Linked DNA regions of Homo sapiens: all the other regions are linked to region 3. The links are contacts of gene promoters, found by promoter capture Hi-C in blood cells and fetal thymus (Javierre and others, 2016). All regions are on one chromosome and are shown on one strand. Each heading gives the region's core, a stretch centred on a gene start or on the middle of the fragment in contact. The rest is flanking DNA. Distances are from core to core; before and after follow the strand shown.

Evidence for each region. The method cuts DNA at HindIII sites, captures the fragments that hold promoters and counts their contacts. A CHiCAGO score of 5 or more calls a contact.
Region 1: a contact is called between a fragment that was not itself captured here and the fragment with the promoter of LSM10 in region 3, in 1 of 17 cell types (neutrophils). The highest score is 5.1, in neutrophils.
Region 2: a fragment that was not itself captured here is called in contact with the fragment with the promoter of LSM10 in region 3 in 11 of 17 cell types (fetal thymus, naive CD4 T cells, total B cells and 8 more); the score reaches 8.9 in fetal thymus.

The regions. Positions count from the first base shown.
Region 1 is chr1:36,059,193-36,062,916 of GRCh38, reverse strand. AGO3 (argonaute RISC catalytic component 3) reads right to left here. Exons shown (of 19, transcript NM_024852.4): 19 at 1-3,724. Among named protein-coding and RNA genes, the nearest start is that of TEKT2, 23 kb to the left of the region's middle. The HindIII fragment of the contact is 1,067 bases long and covers 993-2,059 here.
Region 2 is chr1:36,098,975-36,102,511 of GRCh38, reverse strand. It overlaps COL8A2 (collagen type VIII alpha 2 chain), which reads left to right. Exons shown (of 4, transcript NM_005202.4): 3 at 2,254-2,462; 4 at 3,025-3,537. The coding sequence starts at 2,270. Among named protein-coding and RNA genes, the nearest start is that of ADPRS, 12 kb to the right of the region's middle. RefSeq lists a silencer at 2,320-2,449. The HindIII fragment of the contact is 9,742 bases long and covers 1-3,537 here.
Region 3 is chr1:36,395,986-36,399,532 of GRCh38, reverse strand. It overlaps LSM10 (LSM10, U7 small nuclear RNA associated), which reads left to right and starts at 1,625. Exons shown (of 2, transcript NM_032881.3): 1 at 1,625-1,766. RefSeq lists enhancers at 1,056-1,767, 1,768-2,480. The HindIII fragment of the contact is 5,014 bases long and covers 1,233-3,547 here.

The DNA.
Region 1 (3,724 bases), core at 277-2,776, 340 kb after region 3:
TCATAATTGCTATTAAGACATTATAAAAACAAAAAAGTTTAATGTGCATGTATATTTGCAAACAGACACAGTACACTCCAAACAATATAATTTTACTATCATTATTATATAATGCAGCATACAAGGTTACTGAGGTGTGGTATTTTTTGTTGTTGTTGTTGTTTGCTTTTAGTCTTCTTTTCTGGAAGAATGCTCACCAAATTCACAGGAAAGAAGTGCCTAGGTGATCATTTACTGCTATTTACTGCTTCCTGGTATGGAGCAAAATTGCCCTCTGGTAGGTAACTACATTTCTAATTAGTATGAAAGGTTCTACTATTTTCCTTTCTTTTGCTTATTTCCCCTTAAGCACAATTTGCAGACCCTACTTCTATTTAACTGATCATACCCTTTTAAATGCCTTGTCATCATTTTTCATAGTTCCTGCATCCTAGAAAAAATAAAAAATCATTTAAAATATTCCTTGGTGTCTAGAAAAGAAAATTTCTCTAACAATAGAGATTATCATTTTGCTTTCTCACTTAAGCTGATCTGAATGATGATTTGGTACTGCCTTTATGAGCAGTCCTCCTTAATAATGACTAATTAGGGCCGGGTGTGGTGGTGCATGCCTGTAATCCCAGCTACTTGGGAGGCTGAGGCACGAGAATCACTTGAACCCGGGAGGCGGAGTTTGCAGTAAGCTGAGATTGAGCCACTGCACTCCAGCCTAGGTGACAGAGCAAGACTTTGTCTCAAAAAAAAAAAAAAAAAAAAAGATTAATTAGAAAATGTTGCCTATGATTCCAGGCAAGTTACATTTCCCTTTGGACATTGGTACTATACCCATAATCTTGTTAAAAAGTTAAGTAGGTTTGCTGTTTTATGTGCATTATGGATTTCCTCCAACACAGTTGGGAATTAAAAGAGGTAATTCTACTAAATATTTTGTTTTCAAATTTACAAAATAAATTTGGTGAGCATTTACCTAGATACTTTACTGCATAAAAGCTTTCCTTGGTTCCCTTGGACGAGATTCAAGACAACAACTAACATTATTTTTATGAAACTGTCACACTCTTGGAGTTCTAAAATAATTTATCTTTAAAATTCTTAGCTTCGTGCTACTTGAAAAATAAAAATCTACAGCACCATCTTCTGAAAAGGCACTTTCTAAGAACCGCCTTGCTTTAAAAAATGATTAAAAAATTTAACTCAAGAGTCTACGCCCTGACAAACGTCTTTGCTTTACTGAGACCCTAACATAGATACATTAGATTCTGGTTACCTTAGAAATTAGTCTAAAAAAGGAAGGGACCCCGATGGCTGGATAGGTGATTTGACAGGATTCTAATTTTGTCACACCATTTACCTGATACTTCAACAGGGTTTCTCACTGGTAAATCTCAACCCTCTATATTGAATTTACCATCCTTCTATCTTTAATTCAAATTAAAATCTTTAACTTCCATATTTTAAGAACAAAAGATTCTTGAGATTTAATCAATGATGTAAACATCTGGAGTACTAGTTTTGATGGGTAAAGTAATATAAATTTCAATGAGTAGTAGGTAATATTAGCACAAGCCTTGACCATTATACCTTAGTTTAAAAAATTATGTTGACTGACATGGAAAATTATAAACTTAAATGTACCATTTTAAAAGTAGGAAAAAAGTCAAAATAATTTTTCCCTTTGTGTGTGTGTGTGAGATTATATATATACACACTCATACATATACACACACACACACTCCCCCTCCCTGCTTCCTGGGACTCAGCTTGGCTTTCACTAATCACAGTGTCATTTCTAACACTGCAACGGATCAAGAATGTTCTTAGTATAAGCAGGACTTTTTTAAAAAGATTTTTTGGAGAAAATTCTCACTTTCTGATTTCTGTGCTGACTGACTTACCTACTCTTGGCTGATTTTTTGACTCCTATAGAATCACAAAAGTGCTTTTCTATGATCAAATATGAGGACTGAAATAGGAAAACAAGAGTTCTAAATTAGGGTTATACTGCTACACAGGAAGGCGTTACTTGATGTCAAACCTCCCAACAATTCTTACTGAAGCTTTAAGACATTTATGAATTCTCAAAAAGAATGAAAATAATGAATACTTCATATGGATAAAGCCAAAATAAAGACGCCACACTAATGATATTTTTGCAGCTTGACTAACTAATAAAAGGTAATTTAAGTAGCAAGTTACTGTTAAGGGCAACCTGCCTGTTCAACAGAAGAACATCTAAGAGGATAAGCTAAGCAAACATTTAACTCAGGTTTAATGATACTGAATGAAAATTTTGCAGAGTTGTCAGTTAAACTTCTTGGTAAAAATATTAAAATCAAGTTTGAAATAGGAAGACTGCAACATATTCTAGCTGTATCGAAGTCGTTTGCTTCTTGAATTTCATAAAAATCACTGCCCTTGGCAAATTCATGTAGGGCTCTAAACAGATCCATCAAGTTCCTTGAGTCACAAACGGTCTCTAATTCCTGGTCTGCAATCCATCTAAATACTTCGGATCCATCACTGGCATGCTTAGCGCTCACCCTTTCCTTGAACACAGAGATCCGCTGCCAGTCATTCCTGCTGAAGGGCAAGTCAGGTTTTATTTCCCTAGACATGCCTTCAGTCTTTCATGACTCTGTCAGAAGGCCTATCCTCCTAAAATCCATTAGAGAATACACAAGCAAACACTAGGCAGTGGTGGGCTGTGGAGAAGCTAGCTTGGAAACTGGTCTAGATCTTTAGAAGGCTGAGAATCCCTGTGCTGGAAAGCAGAGATGCCTCTATCAAGTGCCTTCCAAAACACTCAGTAATTCCTACTAGAATCCCTGCTAGACTCTCTTCTAGGAATAGAAATATATTAATAGGTTATAAACAGGGATTTCCCTTAGAATGATAGTTTTTCCAAGAAACTTGTTAGAAGATCACTATTAAGAAAAAGAAAGGGAATCTAATATTTCTGTTGAAATGTGCCAAAAAACCAGTACTGAAGAGGCTGAGGTACCCTTTTTCAAACTGTAAAAGTCAAAATCTACATTTCTAAAACAAAGAATATCCTGATATTAAATTGAAACTAAAATGGCAGCACCCTTTGTTACTTTGATATTCCGTGTCCTTACTCTTAGGAAAAAAAAGGGTCTAACACTAGCCTTGAATCCTGCTTATCTCCTTACTGTTTAGTGCAGTAACTGTCAGAATCTACTTAAATAAATATAGCAGCTACAATATTGTAAGTGTATGGTCCTCCATGCCAGTAACCTGATACTGTGATATAATACATGTATCAGCACTTTATGTAGACACATTAACCATCAAGAATATACATTAAACTCCCAACTCTTCTTCATATGAAAATCAATTATCTAGTTGCCAGACTGATATTTTACAGTCAGTCTCGTAAGATACATCACAGAAAAAAGAAGACCAAAATCTAGCATTCATGATATAGTTAGTGAGCAAGGGCAGGAGCAGAAGGGTCACTGTGAATTTCATGTTTAACTTAAAAAAAAAAACTTTTTTAAAATAAAAAAGATTAGAAATTCTACACCAGAAATGCAACAATAAATAGGACAAATTTCAAGAAGCATTTGTCACTTAGCCTTTTATCTTAAAATTCTAAGCACAAGTTTTCTTGTAATTAAGAACCAATGGTAATTAATATACCAATTTGTTAGCAAAATAGAAATATAGTATACATACTCTTTCAAGTTAATCAACTTTAAACTAG
Region 2 (3,537 bases), core at 1,000-3,499, 300 kb after region 3:
TAGGCAACACAGTGAGACCCTGTCTTTACATAAAATAGAAAAAATTAGCCAGGCATGGTGGCACGTGCCTGTGGTCCCAGCTACTTGGGAGGCTGAGGTGGGAGGATTACTTGAGCCCGGGAGGCCGAGGCTGTGCCCATTAGTCGTCACTTCCCATCTCTTCCCCACCCCAGCCTTAGGCAACCACTGATCCACTTTCTGTCTCTATGGATTTGCCTATTCTGGCCATTTCATATAAATGGAATCACACAACATGTACATTCCATATCTCACTTTTCACTGTTTTCAAGATTCATCTGTGTTGTAGCAGGTGTCAGGACTTCCTTCCTTTTATATATATATATTTTGAGACCAGGTCTCCCTCTGTCACCCAGGCTGGAGTGCAGCTCACTGCAACCTCCACCTCCTGAGCTCAAGTGATCCTCCCTCTTCAGCCTCCTGAGTAGCTGGGACCACAGCACGCCCACACCCAGCTAATTTTTTGTTTGTTTGTTTTGTAGAGATGGGGTTTCACCAGGTTGCCCAGGCTGGTCTCAAACTCCTGGGCTCAGACAATTCACCCACCTCTGCCTCCCAAAGTACTGAGATTACAGGCGTGAGCTGCTGTGCTTAGCCTATTTATAGATATATTTTTAAATTTGGGGTTTTGCTATGTTGCCCAGGCTGGTTTTAAACTCAGGGCTCAAGTGATCCTCCCACCTCAGCCTCCTGAGTAGCTGGGACTACAGGTATACACCACCATGCCCAGCCTGTACTTCATTCATTTTCATTGCCGAGTAATATTCCATTGTATGGCGATACCACATTTTATTTGTCCATGGACATTTGCGTTGTCTCTACTTTTGGCTGCTGTGAATATCGCTATTATGAACATTCACATATAGGTTATTGTGTGGACATCCTCTCTCATTTCATGGATGAGGAGACCTCCTGCCCAGGCTCCCACAGCTGGGAAGGGGAAGGGGAAGGCTGCCTGGCTGGTTCCAGAGCCTGTGCTTCTTCCTCACCCAGGCTTTGTTCTCTGAGTTGAGCCAAATGCTGTGACAGGCATAGGTCAGGGCACAAAGAAATGAGGCTTTATAGAGGAAGGGATGACAGCCTCCCAGGGCCATAAAAGATGAGTAGAGGAGGAAAATAACATTGCAGGCAGAGAAATAGCAGGCGCAAAGGCCAGAAGTGTTAAGGTGCCCGGTGCCTGGGAACTTCAAGTTCTGGTTTACTGGGTGGAGGTGTGGGGAGGTGAGGGGCAGAGAAAGGGATAGCAGGCAATAGAGTTGGAGACACAGGCACAGAGTAGGTTAGAAAGGCCTTGAATGCAGGCCGGGCGCGGTGGCTCATGCCTGTAATCCTAACACTTTGGGAGGCTGAGGCAGCCGGATCACCTGAGGTCAGGAGTTCGAGACCAGCCTGGCCAACATGGCGAAACTCCATCTCTACTAAAAATACAAGAATTAGCCAGGCGTGGTGGCACACACCTATAATTCCAGCTACTTGGGAGGCTAAGGCACGAGAATCGCTTGAACCCGGGAGGCAGATTTTGCAGTGAGCCAGGATGGCGCCATTGCACATTGCACTGGGCGAGCAAAACTGTCTCAAAAAAAAAAAAAAAAAAAAAAAAAAAAAAGCCTTGAATGCTATGCTAAGCGCCATAGACTTGATCCCAAAGGCGAGTGGCAGGGAGTCCAGAAGGGCATCAGCAGAAGGTGCAGTCAGACAGACCTAAGACAAATCCCATCTCTGGCTTCCTCAAGACTTTTGCTTTAGTTTTATCATCTGGAAAATGGAGATGACAATAATAATAACTTGTTAAAGTGTTCTGAGCATTAAGTGAATTCATGTCCCTAAAGAGCTCAGCCTAGTGCCTGGCAGAGAGCTGGCCCAGCAATGGAAATGGGTGTTGACATCCAAGAGTTTTTAGCAGGGGAGGTCAGACTGCTCTAAAAGGCACGCCCGGCTGCAGAGAGTGACTGGCTGGTTTTGAGGAGGCTGCTGTCCTGGGGAGGCTGGGCTCTCGGAGATGGTGGGGGTGATGAACAGCCACAGGCAGGGTCTGAAGAAGTTTAGGAGGTGGCTTATGCAGACCCCCGCGACTTTGAAAATTGCTTGTGAATAATATCTAAATTCGGAATTGCTTCTCAGCCTTTTGACTGAAATCTCCAGTGTAATCTCTAAATTCTGATCTTTTGGTGACCCCGGGCCTAGTGCCAAACCACCCAGGGCTGGCTTGATGACTTTCTCTGTTCTTCTTTGCAGCACGTCCACGGACGCCATGCTGGGGACTCTGACACCCCTGTCTTCGCTGCTGCTGCTGCTACTGGTGCTGGTGCTGGGGTGTGGGCCGCGGGCGTCCTCTGGTGGCGGGGCCGGTGGGGCGGCGGGCTATGCCCCAGTGAAGTACATCCAGCCCATGCAGAAAGGACCTGTGGGACCGCCCTTCCGTGAGGGCAAAGGCCAGTACCTGGGTGAGAGCCTCCTCACCCCACAGTGCCTCAAATCGCTCCCAGCCCCCAAATCCCCTGCCTCCCTGAGAGCCATCAGATCCTCAGGCGCCCTCCACAGCTCCTCATTCCCCACCAATTTTCCTACCTTCAGTGTTTTTCCTAATACCCCAGAGGGCCTGGAAACGGTGCAGTTAGCTGGCACAGGTGGTCTTCCAAGGGGGAGATGAACTGGGAAGTTGGGAGGTGGGGCTCTGCTCCCACGGGCTCTAAGGTGGGCTGCTGGTGCCACCTGGTGGCCACTCCACCTTCAGGTCATGCAGGGATGAGAGGTGAGAATCAGCCAGGCTCATGGAGGAGGCCCAGCCTAGGTAGGTTGGGTGTTAGGAGCCCTTAAGGAGGACACCCTGTTGCCCCCAAGATGTCCCCTGGGCCACCCCCAAACCCCATCTTCCATGAGAGCAGGAAGGGGCAGCCCCATTCTTCCTCTCCCGTGTACCTCATACTGGAATGGGGGAATGGGTAGATGGGGTCCCCTGTCCCCACAGTTCAGGCCCCTGACTGCCCCTTTCTCTTTCTTTCTCAGAAATGCCTCTACCGCTGCTGCCGATGGACCTGAAGGGAGAGCCCGGCCCCCCTGGGAAGCCCGGGCCTCGGGGTCCCCCTGGCCCCCCTGGCTTCCCAGGAAAACCAGGCATGGGAAAGCCAGGACTCCATGGGCAGCCTGGCCCTGCTGGGCCCCCTGGCTTCTCCCGGATGGGCAAGGCTGGTCCCCCAGGGCTCCCTGGCAAGGTCGGGCCACCAGGGCAGCCGGGGCTTCGGGGGGAGCCAGGAATACGAGGGGACCAGGGCCTCCGGGGACCCCCAGGACCCCCTGGCCTCCCGGGCCCCTCAGGCATTACTATCCCTGGAAAACCAGGTGCCCAAGGGGTGCCAGGGCCCCCAGGATTCCAGGGGGAACCAGGGCCCCAGGGGGAGCCTGGGCCCCCAGGTGATCGAGGCCTCAAGGGGGATAATGGAGTGGGCCAGCCCGGGCTGCCTGGGGCCCCAGGGCAGGGGGGTGCCCCCGGCCCCCCCGGCCTCCCTGGTCCAGCTGGCT
Region 3 (3,547 bases), core at 376-2,875:
GGAGGATCACTTGAGCCCAGGTAGTTGAGGCTGCAGTGAGCTATGATCACACCACTGCACTCCAGCCTGGATGACAGGGTGAGAACCTGTCTCTACAAGTAAATCAAATCACTTCGCTCCCTTTCAATAGCCTGTCATAGCACTTCTAGTACTAGATGAGAAGACTGAGGCACAGAGAAGATACTAACTTGCCCAAAGTCACAATTAGCCAGGAGTAGATTTGAACCTAGGCACTGTATCCGGAGGCTGCACTCCTAACCATGAAATCTAAACTCCTTACCTTGGCTCACAAAGCCCTATATGCTCTGGTTCCTGCTTCCTCTCTGGCCTCTTGTTATACCACTCTCCCCAGCTTCCCTGGCCTTTCCTGTGTTCCTAAATTGTCAAGGTCATTTCCCCCAGGTTCTTTGCATGAACTGTGAAAAGAAAAAATTTAACTTTTAATTGGTGATTTGACTTTTTTTTGCCAAATTTGTTAAATCTGACTTTTATTTGCAACTCTAGAATCGGGCAACACTTCATTCTATAAAATGGAATGAGTGTTCAAATGAGCTGAGCAGAGGAGATTGGTTTTACAGCCAGAAAAGGGCTGAGGAAAGCAGAAACAGAAAACAAAAAGATTGGTTGTTTCAAAGTTACTTTCCTTGTAACTTTGAAGGCTAAAGCAGAGGGGACTTCCTTATCCTGCCAGCTAAAACAGGATGGTTTGGAGATCTAGCTATCTCTCACTCTTCTGATTTATCGGAATATCAGATAAACAACTTAGTTTCCACTTGGTGATGTAGAACTTTAGCATGAGTGACTCCATTTTGGTTCTGTTGGGCTTGGTGCAGGAGCCCTGTTCAAACCAATGGCCTCCAATTTTTTTTTTTTTTTGAGACGGAGTCTTGCTCTGTTGCCCAGGCTGGAATGAAGTGTTACTTTCTGAGCTCACTGCAGCCTCCACTTCCTGGATTCAAGCAATTCTCCTGCCTCAGCCTCCCAAGTAGGTGGGACCAGAGGTGTACGCCACCACGGTGGGCTAATTTTTTCTATTTTTTGTAGAGACAGGGTCTCCCCATTGTTGCCCAGACTGGTCTCGAACTCCTGGGCTCCAGTGATCCTTCCGCCTTGTCCTCCAAAGTGCTGGGATTACAGGTGTGGGCCTCTGCACCCGGCCCTGCCTCCTATAAATTTTACTTAACAAACTGTTCCCGCTAATTGCAATGCTCCTCCCATAGTTTTCACAAGCTTGGCTTCATGTCACTAATCTCAACTCAAATGTCACCTTCTCAGGGCACCCCTGACAATCCAATAAAAGACCACCTTGTCACCATCACATCACACCTTTAATCTTCTGAAGAAATTTTTCCCTATTTTTCTTCTTTGTTTTCTTAAGACTCTCTCCCCTGCAGCGCCATCAGCTCAGGGAGCCACTTGATCTTGGTCACTGCTCCATGCCGGAGCCTGGGAAGGAGCCTGGCCCAGGTCGCCGGTTCAATGAATGCGTGCGGAATGAATGAACGACTCTAGTGAAAGAGACTCCAATGACGCAGGCCGGGATTTGCGGAGCACGAGCCCCGCGCCGCGAAGCATTCTGGGGATTGTAGTTTCTCCGTGACGCGGTGACTTGCAGAGCACTGACGCACTCTGCGCCCGGAGGACAGAGCGGCCCGGTCGCCGGCATGGTTTCTCCGTCCTGCTGCAGCCGGCGGGAGGCAGCCAGTCCAGGCGCCCGCTAGCTTCGGCGGCGACCCAGACGGGGAAAGCGGAAGGAATGTCGCGTGGTGGGTCCGGGTCGGCGGTGCAGGGAGCCCCGGGGCGGAATGCGGGGGATGCCAGGACCTCCGGAAGGAGGTGCCGGAGCCCAGGAAGCGTTTTCTTCCCCATTTACCGAGTATAGCTCCTTTCCCCAGACCCGCTCCCGCTGCTCTGAGTAAGCGGTGCTCATCCCGTTTTACCGGTAGCTTAGCTAGCTTGGAGAAGCTAAGTGGTTTGCTAAGTGATCGCCCTCCTAGGAGGTGGCAAAGCCTGTTCTAGAACCCGGGCCTGACTCGAGGTCCGGTGACTGCTCTTTGCAGTCGCAGCAGCAGCCCCATACCTTTGCTTGATCGCAGATTCATCAGGCTGCAGCCGGGTGGCTGGTCGTTAGGCCATGCCCAGGGACCTAGCTCCCAGGCCCCCTCGTCACTGGCCTAGTCTGGCTTGCCACGCTCAGTGCCACAATGCACAGCCCTGGACGGGATGCTGAGTGAGGTCGTAAAGAGAGAGCGTTCCACCCCCTTTAACTCAGGTCTGAAAATAAGGGATAGGTAAGACATAGTGCACTAATACATTATCAGGGCATGTTGAAATCAAAGGAGAGTACCTTTAGTGGAGTGTGATTCTGGTAGCTTTGTTTCTCCTGTAGTTTAATAAATGTGGAAACAGGTTCAGAGACATTAACTTTTCTAGGTTTTCATAATTAGGGGTGGAGTGGGGATTCCAACCTAGGTTTCTCTACCTTCAAAACCTATGTACCTTATATAATACCGGTTGGGGGTTTTTTTCCCCAATTCATTATCCAGATTTATTTTCTTTTTTTTTTTCTGAGAGTCTCGCTGTGTCACCCAGGCTGGTGTGCAGTGGCACAATCTTGGCTCACTGTAACCTCTGCCTCCTGGGTTCAAGCGATTCTCCTGCTTCAGCCTCCCAAGTAGCTGAGATTACAGGTGCGCCCATGCCCAGGTAATTTTTGTATTTTTGGTAGATACTGGGTTTCACCATGTTGGCCAGGCGGGTCTTGAACTCCTGACCTCAGGTGATCCACTCGCCTTGGCCTCCCAAAATCCTGGGATTACAGGCGTGAGCCCTTGCACCCGGCCTCATTACCTTAATTTCTACTTACATAACAGCTGCATGGTGTAGACCAATAGTTCCCAGAGTGTGGGCCCCTGACCAGCAGCATCAGCATCACCTGGGAACATGTTCAAAATGACTTTATCTCTGGGCCTCACCTCAGACCTGAGTCAAACTGGGAGTGGGGCCCAGCAAGCTGAGTTAACAAGCCCCTCAGATGATTCTGATACACACTAATGTTTGAGAACTACTGGTGTCAACCAATGATTCTCAAACCTTAACGTGTATCTAATTCACGTAGGGGGTCATGTTAAAATGCAGTCTGTTTCCAGCCAGCGTGGAAGATGGCAGTGAGCCACTCAGTGAAGGAGTGGATTTTATCTCAGAACAGGCTTGGGGAGAGACCTGAGATTGCGCATTTCTAACCAGTACCCCTCAGCACTTTGGAGTTATCTGGGGAGCTTTCTTTTTTTTTTTTTTTTTTTTTTTTTTGAGATGGAGTCACTCTGCTGCCCAGGCTGGAGTGCAGTGGCACTCCACTTGCAGCTCACTGCAAGCTCTGTCTCCCAGGTTCACGCCATTCTCCTGCCTCAGCCCCCCGAGTAGCTGGGACTACAGGCGCCCGCCACCACGCCTGGCTAATTTTTTTGTATTTTTAGTAGAGATGGGGGTTTCACCATGTTAGCCAGGATGGTCTTGATCTCCTGACCTCATGATCCGCCCGCCTCGG